3 separate regions of the Homo sapiens genome follow, and all the other regions are linked to region 3. Evidence: promoter capture Hi-C in 16 types of primary human blood cells and fetal thymus (Javierre and others, 2016). All regions are on one chromosome and are shown on one strand. Each heading gives the region's core, a stretch centred on a gene start or on the middle of the fragment in contact. The rest is flanking DNA. Distances are from core to core; before and after follow the strand shown.

What was found. The method cuts DNA at HindIII sites, captures the fragments that hold promoters and counts their contacts. A CHiCAGO score of 5 or more calls a contact.
Region 1: a contact is called between a fragment that was not itself captured here and the fragment with the promoter of PTF1A in region 3, in 1 of 17 cell types (M2 macrophages). The highest score is 5.6, in M2 macrophages.
Region 2: a fragment that was not itself captured here is called in contact with the fragment with the promoter of PTF1A in region 3 in 1 of 17 cell types (M1 macrophages); the score reaches 6.0 in M1 macrophages.

The regions. Positions count from the first base shown.
Region 1 is chr10:24,505,883-24,508,734 of GRCh38, reverse strand. All of the region lies in intron 9 of KIAA1217, which reads right to left. Among named protein-coding and RNA genes, the nearest start is that of ARHGAP21, 220 kb to the left of the region's middle. The HindIII fragment of the contact is 2,237 bases long and covers 399-2,635 here.
Region 2 is chr10:24,202,664-24,205,553 of GRCh38, reverse strand. It overlaps a transcript of KIAA1217 not described here. Among named protein-coding and RNA genes, the nearest start is that of KIAA1217, 5.0 kb to the left of the region's middle. RefSeq lists an enhancer at 2,547-2,890. The HindIII fragment of the contact is 5,088 bases long and covers 1-2,890 here.
Region 3 is chr10:23,191,026-23,193,934 of GRCh38, reverse strand. PTF1A (pancreas associated transcription factor 1a) reads right to left here and starts at 1,623. Exons shown (of 2, transcript NM_178161.3): 1 at 621-1,623; 2 at 1-231. The coding sequence starts at 1,404. The coding sequence ends at 29. The HindIII fragment of the contact is 14,718 bases long and covers 1-2,909 here.

The DNA.
Region 1 (2,852 bases), core at 268-2,767, 1.3 Mb before region 3:
TTCAGTGATTCATTCTTTTATTGCTAAGTGGCATTTCATTGTACAAATGGATATAACAAAATTTTAATATTTGTGTACATTGACTTGATTCTTGTGATCTTGCTCAAGTCACTTATTTCTAGTAGCATGTTTTGTAGATTCCATTTAATGTTACACATATATAATCATGTCATTTGTGAGTAAAGCCAATTAGACATTTTACATTTCGATTTGTGTGACTCTATTTCTTTCTCTAGCCATACTGAACTTGCTACAATCTTCAGTACAGTGTTAAACAGATGTCAGAGTAGGTTTCTTGGCCTTGCTCCTGATTTTATGGGGAATGTGTTTAGTGTTTCACCATTAACTATGTTTTCTGTAGGTCATTCACAAACATTGTTTATCAAGGTAAGGAAGCTTCCTTCTACTTCTAGAGCGCTGTTTTTATCATTGATGCTAAATTTTGTTACATGCTTTTTCTGCATTTATTGAAATACGATTTTTCTGTTAATAAGGTCAAATACGTTGATTTTTTTCGTATTAAAACAATCTTGCATTCCTGGAATAAAACCCCAGGATAATGTATTATTCTTTTTATATATTGCTGGATTCAGTTACTAACGTTTTGTTAAGGATTTGTTACATATATTTTCGTGAGGGATATTGGTTTGTGGTTTTCTTCCCTTATAATATTTTTGTCTGGTTTTGCTCTTAGGGTAATGCAGGCTTCATAAAATGAGTTAGGAAGTATTCTCTGTTTTCTGAAAGACTTTTCTTCCTTTCAATACTTTAAAGACGTCATTCCACTGTGTCCTGACTTGCCTTTTGTTTCTGATGAGAAGTTGGCATTAATTCTTAATTGTGATTCCTGTATGTAATGGGTTTTCTCTCCACCCCCAGCTGCTTTGAAGATTTTTCCATTTATCTCTGGTTTTTAGCAATTTGACTACCATGTGCTTTGGTGCAATTTCCATTGTGCTTACCATTCTAGGGGTTCACTGAGCTTTTTTGGTCTGTGGATTTACAGCTTTCATCAAATTTGGAAAAAATTCAGTCATTACCTTTTTGAATATTTTTCTCTTTCCACTTCATCTTTTATTAATATTGTCTCACTGGTCACTACATTTTAATTCATTTTCTTTAGTCTCTTGTCTCTCTATACTTCAGTTTGAACAGTTTCCATTGCTGTTTTTAGGGTGACTGACATTTTGGGCAGTGATTAATCTTCTGTTAAGCACATTTGGATATTGTTTTTCAGCTCTTGAAAGCTCCACTTGGATATTTTTTATATCTTCCATTTCTTTCCTCATTATGTTCATGTCTTCCTTTAAATCCTTGAGAATAATTATAATAGCTGTTTTGAAGTCCTTGCTGCTGATTTCATTATCCCTGCCATGTCTGGTTGGTTTCTCTTGACAAATTTTTCTTAATGTTATAGGTCACATTTGTCAGCATCATCACATGTCTAGTAATTTTTGAGTGGATATTGGGCATGGAGCTCTGAATTTTGTTGTTTTCCTTTACAGATTTTGGACTTTCTCTGGCAGACAGTCCAGTTACTTGTGGATCAGCTTTGTCCTTTAAAGGCTTATTTTTAAGCAGTTAGGTTAAATCAAGGGTAGTCTTTCCTCTGGGGCTAGTTTAGTCCTAAGACTGAGGCACAGTCCTTCTCCGATCTCTACAAAATGCCCAGGTGCTCAACAAGGCCTCTTCGCTTTTTGCTTTTCAAAACGTGAACATCTCCCAGGCCTGTGTGAACTTCGGGAACTTTTTGGCTTACAGCCCCCGACTTAGTTTCTGCCTGGCTTAGCGGTTGCTTTCACACTGTACATGCTTGGCTTAATATTTAATAACAGACCCATTTATTGATGTACTTCTTTCTCTGCAGAGCTTTCTTGTGTTTGGTTCTCCAGTCCACCAGTTCTAGCTGTTTCAGCTCTCTCTAAACTTTGGTCTTATCTCCTCAACTCACTGTCAGTGCCATGCTTGGGTTTTTCCTTCCTGCACCAAGATCTGAAAAGTGCCTCCAGACAGAAAGCTGGGTCAACTGTAGGTTTTTTCCCCCCATTCTCCTAAGGATTACGGTCCTGTGTTGTTTAATTTCTGAAAACATTTGTTTCATACATTTGCTTATTTTTCAGTTTTCTAGTTGCCCACAGTGGGAGGGCAAGTAGAGTTGCAGTTATTCCTCATAGCTAGAAAGATAATTTATTGAAAATGCTTTGCCATTTTTATAAGCACTCTTGTAAAATAAGAGACAGAAATAATGCTCTTGTCCATTAAAATTTTAATTGGACCAAATAAGTTATCCAAATCACTTCATGGAGAAACTAGCAAATGCCTAAACCTAATTCCCCCAACCTGAAAATGGACCTATATCTCACATACTCAATTTTGATTTCTTAGGTAAAATCTAAGACTATCAGTCTTGCCAACAATGGATAATGTAATTGGACTGATTTTGCTGTCTAGCAGTGACATGGAACAGTGGTTATACCACAAATCAGAAAGATTCAGGAGGAAAGCCAGACCTCAGAACGACTCCTGATCCCACCTGGATCTGTTCCTGCAGGCTTCAGGGAACAAGACAAGGGATGCCTGGTCACAGCTATATAACCCATGTTATTGGGGTGCTGTCTCCCCATCTTAGAAAGCTTCTTGTTGTCTGAAGATCTGACTAGACCTTGGCACATTGTAAGCAGCCTAATCGTCAAGCCCTGTACTAGTTCCGTTTATTATTTCTGCTTGGCAGGGGACACGGGTCTGTTGCACATGGGAAACTCCAATATGCTGTTCTCAGGGATCCGCATTCCCGTGACCATTGTTATGCATGTCAGAAGATAAATGAGACCCTGGCACATTTCCACGAGGCG
Region 2 (2,890 bases), core at 224-2,723, 1.0 Mb before region 3:
GATCTGCCTGCCTCGGGCTCCCAAAGTGCTGGGACTACAAGCATGAGCCACCGCGCCCGGCATTTTTTCCTTTTTTTTGAGACGGAGTTTTGCTCTTGTCGCCCAGGCTGGAGTGCAATGGCGCGATCTCGGCTCACTGCAACCTCTGCCTCGAGGGTTCAAGCAATTGTCCCGCTTCAGCATCCTGAGTAGCTGGGATTACAGGCATGTGCCACCACGCCTGGCTTTTTTTTTTTTTTTTTTTTTTTTTTGTATTTTTAGTAGAGACGGGGTTTCACCACATTGGCCAGGCTGGTCTCGAACTCCTGACCGCAGGTAATTCGCCCACCTTGGCTTCCCAAAGTAATCACGCTGGGATTACAGGCGTGAGCCACTGTGCCTGGCCTATGTAAGTTTTTCAACAGAGAAATCATTGCAAGAACCAAGAGTAAGTGGAATTGCCCTGATACATATTTAATATTTTTTCACTTTAAATCCTATTAAGAACCAGATAGTTGAAAATGACTTGACATCAGGACACAAAAGAAATAATTAATGCTTGCTGAAGTCCTTAAAATGTACTTTTCAAAGGCATTCATAACTGTGAGAGTCAATTAAAACAAAGTGAAAAACAAAGAAGTCAACAAAAGTGTTTCAACCAGAGGCCTCGTGTTTGATGTGTTCCACATTAACTGTTTCTAAAAGACAGGCTGCTATGGTATGAGGCCCTGTAAGTCAGAAATAAAGGATTTTTAACAACTGGGATAACATTTGCTTAAATGGATGATCTGGCGCATGTGAAATGTGGGCTCTCCAATCCTAGTTTTGACAGCAATGTGTCAGGTGGTTAGGGTGACCTTATACTTAGTATAAACCAGCATTTGTGAGAGGGAAAGTAGACACTATTAATAATTACAACTGGACAATAAGACACCACGACTGTCCCTGGCAAACCAGCACAGATGGCCACCTATGTGTGATCCCAAGATAAGCCCTCTGGGCGCCTTAGGTTTCCAAATGTGAGGGGAACATAATGATACTGTTTGAGTTTCCCAACAAAGACCCTATAAAAGAATCTGAAACAATAATTAAAAAATAATTAATCTTAAACAATAATTAGAGCAAAGGTGTGAGCCTCACACGGACCGTATTACAAGCCCCACTAACAAACAATTTCGCAGATTCCATAGTATAATACATTTCTATATGACTCATAGATCAAAACAGAATTTTCCCTTCTGCGTTAAGAGCAACAATTTCACCAGGTAACCTCCAGCATTCTCTCCAGAGGGTAACCAATCTTCCCTTACTTAAAGTCCTTAAAATTCCAGTGGCTCCAAGGAGATCCTGCCAGACAATAAGTGAGGTGCCCAGGAGCCCCTCGCCACCCACCAACACTCAAATCTCCCTATGAAATGTCTTGGAACTCTCCTGCTACTCCACACAAATTCCTCATGTGGTCATATGATGTGAAACTACACATAGATCCAATGTGTTAATACTTTAAGCATATTTGCTTTCTTTTTAAGAGAACCCATTGATGTTGGTTTTTATTATGGTTTCTTTTATCTATTTTAAGTTGGAAGATAGATGCTGGGCAGCAAAGACCCCGTGTGCACAGCACTGTGGCCAGAGCTGGCATCTGTGCAGCATACCGTCTTGAAAGCCCCGCTCAGCTCTGCCCTCTGGTCACTGCAGACAAAGTCTGGATTCCAGGTGGCAACTTATAAGTGAAAAGTGTAACATGTATCTGCTCACCCCTTTTATCCCAGAGGGAGCAAAACCATGGCATATTTCCCAGAGTTCCTGAAGGGCCAGGGTGGAATCCACGAGAATATGAGAGCTTCTACAGATACAAGCACCTGGGTTGCTACCTTGCTTTACCCACAGTGCCTCATTATCAACCCTTTCAATAGAGTATTTGGGGGAAAGAGACTCTCCTGGCTTATTTTCTGCCCTTGAGCTTCTCCTCTGCCATTTCTCAAAGCTGCAGTGACCTGTGGAGGTGGGGGTTGGGGGGTAGGGGGAGCAAGAAGGAAGGGGAACCAATCAAGTTGCCAAAACTAGGATCATGGAGTACACTTCTCCCTGTTTCCCCCACCAACATCCCCCAACTTTGCTGCTGAACAAACTGACTCCTGGAGCATTCTCGAACGTGTGGCTCTCATCTCTCCCATCTTTCTCGTCTCCAGGGTCCTGTTCAGCCTTTGCTCTGTTATACTTGATGAATACCTTAGGATCTTTTATCCTCTTTTTTCACTACTGAAGTCCAAGGCAATTGTCCAAGGCGACCCCTCAATCATCAATATTATTTTTATTATTTTGCTAGATGGAAATGAAGAATAAAAGGGGAGGTATCTCTCTTCTTCTTCTTTCTTTTTTTTTTTTTTGACAAGTTTTTACTCCACCACCCAGGCTAGATTGCAGTGGTATGATCACAGCTCACTGCTTCAACTTCTTGGGCTCAATCAATCCTCTACCCTCAGCCTCCCAAGTAGCTGGGACTACAGGCACACTCCACCATGCCTGGCTAATTTTATATTTTTTTGTAGACATTAGGTCTCACTATGTTGCTCAGGCTGGTCTTGAACTCCTGGGCTCAAACAATCCTCCAGCCCTGGCCTCACAAAGTGTTGAGATTACTGTCATGAGCCACTGCCCCTGGCCCGGTATACCTATTTTCTAAAATTCCTCTTCTTTCAACTATAGAATTGGGTCTGGTATTATTTGGGGGGCATTGCTGTAAGAGCCCTAAGGCATCATGCAGTTCGGCCATAGATATTTATCAAAGTCTCCCTGCAGCTGGGCGCCTGCTCTAGTCACTGAGACCTCTAGTCTGTAAGCTAAGACTGTGATGCCAGGGACCTCCCTGGGGGGCAGGGCTTCCAGGAGGATGAGGCCAAAGATGGAA
Region 3 (2,909 bases), core at 374-2,873:
TCAGATCTTCAGCCGAGTCTGGGACTTCTCAGGACACAAACTCAAATGGTGGTTCGTTTTCTATGTTGTTGAAGGAAGATTTGCTGTTGAGTTTTCTGGGGTCCTCTGGGGTCCAGACTTTGGCTGTTCGGATAATATTTTGTTCCTTGAGTTGTTTTTCATCAGTCCATGAGAGAGAGTGTCCTGCTAGGGGAGGGAGGCCATAATCAGGGTCGCTGGGGGAGGGGGACCCTGGACAGGTGAGAAGAGAAAACAGACTGTGAATATCCAACCACATTCCCATTGGTCCCATCAGGTCCTTTAGGACCCTTTCCTGGGTGCTCTCCGGTTATACTAGAACCACCCTCTTCCTCCACACTTCAAGTCCCCACCGTCCCCTCCCAGGAATCCGAGGAGCTGCAAGTCTGGCGGGGACGCGCGCCCTTGAGAGCCGCGGTCAACGTGGCAGAAAAATAAAAAAAAAAAAAAAAACGAGAAACGCGAGCTCGCATTCAAGTTTTTCCGTGCCCACCGACAATCCGTCGGTCCGACTGTCTGCTTGGCAGTCAGCTCCCCCAGCCCCTCCGGAGCCTTCGAGTGCCCGACCCCTTCTCCCTGAGCTGGGAAGCGGAAGCACTTACGGGTGCCCCGATGGCAGATGATGACCTTCTGGGCCTGGCTGCCCGGGCTGTCCCCGCCCAGGCGCCCGCCGCCGCCCGGCCCCCCGCAGCCGCCCGCGCCACCGCCGCGCAAGGGCAGGTCGGCCTGCACGAGCTCGCTGAGGAAGTTGATGTAGCCGATGGCCAGGCGCAGCGTGTCCACCTTGGAGAGGCGCTTCTCGTAGGGCAGCGTGGGGATGTGCGAGCGCAGCCCCTCGAAGGCGTCGTTGATGGACTGCATGCGCCGCCGCTCGCGCACGTTGGCCGCCTGCCGCAGCTGCTGCAGCTCCGCCTCGGAGCGCACCCGCCGCCGGCGCCGCGCCGCCGCAGCCGCCGCTCCGCTCAGGCCGCGCAGCCGCGCCCCGGGAGACAGTACTGCCGCCCCGGCGCACGGGTAGGCCAGGCACGAGGGCGGCGAGCCGGGCGAGTAGGGGAAGCCGCCTGGGGGCGCCCCCGTCTCGCAGCAGTAGCCGCCGCCGCCGCCGTCGTCTGGCTCACCGAGGCCCCCCGAGGACGGCGGGGCGAGCGCTAGCGGGGCGGCCGGGGGCGCGGGCTGCAGCAGCAGGCACGCCCCGTCGCGGTAGCAGTACTCGTGGAGCTGGTGGCTAAGGAACTCCACCTCGGCCTGCTCGTCCGCCAGCAGCTCATCGCCGTCCTCCAGGGGGTCCCGTGAAGACTGGTCGGTGAAGAAGTCGTCCTCGTCGAAGTACGAAGAAGGAAAGGCGTCTAGGCCCCCGGGGAAGTGCTCCAGCAACACCGCGTCCATGCTCGCCGCCGCAGTGGGCAGCGGGACTGCCGGGCTGCGCGTGTTAGTTCTTGGTGAGTTTCTAAGGCCCGTCCGAGCCCCTCCCTCCCGGGGCCCTGGCTGGGGGCAGCTAGGCGGCCGCCGGGCTGCCCGCCCCCGGGCCTCCCTGGAGTGCCCGCGGCCGCTGCGCTCTGGCCCGCGCTCGCGCTGCGCTGGGGAGGGCTGTGGCGGACTTCCTGGAGCTGAGGGCCGGCACGCGAGGATTCTTATAACAACATCCATAGGCGCGTGCCAGGGACCCATCGCGCCAGCCAATCAGAGCGCGGTGTGCCGGCGGCGAGGGGGCCCGGAGGCGCGGCGGTGGGCGGGGGTGGGGGGCGTTTTGCTCCCTTTGGGAGCTCCTGGGGCGAGGAAAAGGCGGGGTCGCGCGGCCCGGGGCTCCTCGCACCGCTCTCTTCCCTCTCCTCTGCCTCTGCATACTGGATTCTGTACCTGCCCCGCGTGCGGCTCCAGGGGCACCTGCGTCCCGCGGTGCCCGCTGCGTACCCGCGCGCGCTGAGCAGCGCCGGCTCCTTCCGCCCTGGGACTGGGGCAGCCGCGCGCCGCGTCTACACGCGGCCAGAGAAGTTCCTAGGGGTGCGCGCCGGTGGCCCAGACGGCGAGAGCGGAGCCCGCGCGGCGATCGTCCTCCTCCGCGGCAGCCTGGGCAATCTAAGGGTGCTGCCCTCAGGGACCAGGTGGGTGCATTCCGCCACCCCCTTATCCGAGGTGCGCGGGGCTCCGGCCTGGGTTCTGCTGGGGGCTTCTGTCCCATCTCTGGACTTTTCAAGGGCTTTTGCACAGTTTGCAGAGTATATGCGGGTGTCATTGGAAGGTGATCCGGGCCCACTCCCACTGCGTTCCAGACGCAACACGGGGGCTGGGAGCGCACCTATGGGACTCCGCTCTGGAGCCTGGCTGTGGTGCCTGGTGCGGGTCCCCAGCGACATCGGCTCAGTGGCTGCCTCCCCTGCCCTCCCCGGCCCGGAGAAAGGAATGGGGAGACGGGAGGGGCAGCCCCCAGAGCAGCTCAGCGGGGCGCGTTTCTTCTGAGAGCAAATCTAGACCCTAGGGATTCTGAGCAATAAACTGGATACAAAAGGAGTCCATTGAATCGTCTGCTCCGGCGCAGTCCGGAGGGAAGGCATTGAAGTTAAAGGGCAGAATGTGAATCGTTTTCAAAGCCCGAGTCTCTCACCTTTCCGACTGGCCACAGGGACCATCCCTGAATGACTTGTTTTTTTCTTTCTCGACCTTTCTTTTCTGAAAAAAAAAAAAAACACAAAACGTATGCAGCTCTGCCCCAAGACAGACTTTATCACAGACTGCGATGCAACGTGAATTCCTCTTTTTAAGAGCAACAAAGAAACACTTTCAAGGTCTGGGCAATTCCGGTTAAAAGCCAGGCTGCAGCTTCCACCCCGGGAGAGTTCAGAAGCGCAGCCATCGTGCGTATTCTCTCTACAGAGGACTGAAAGGAGTCGTCC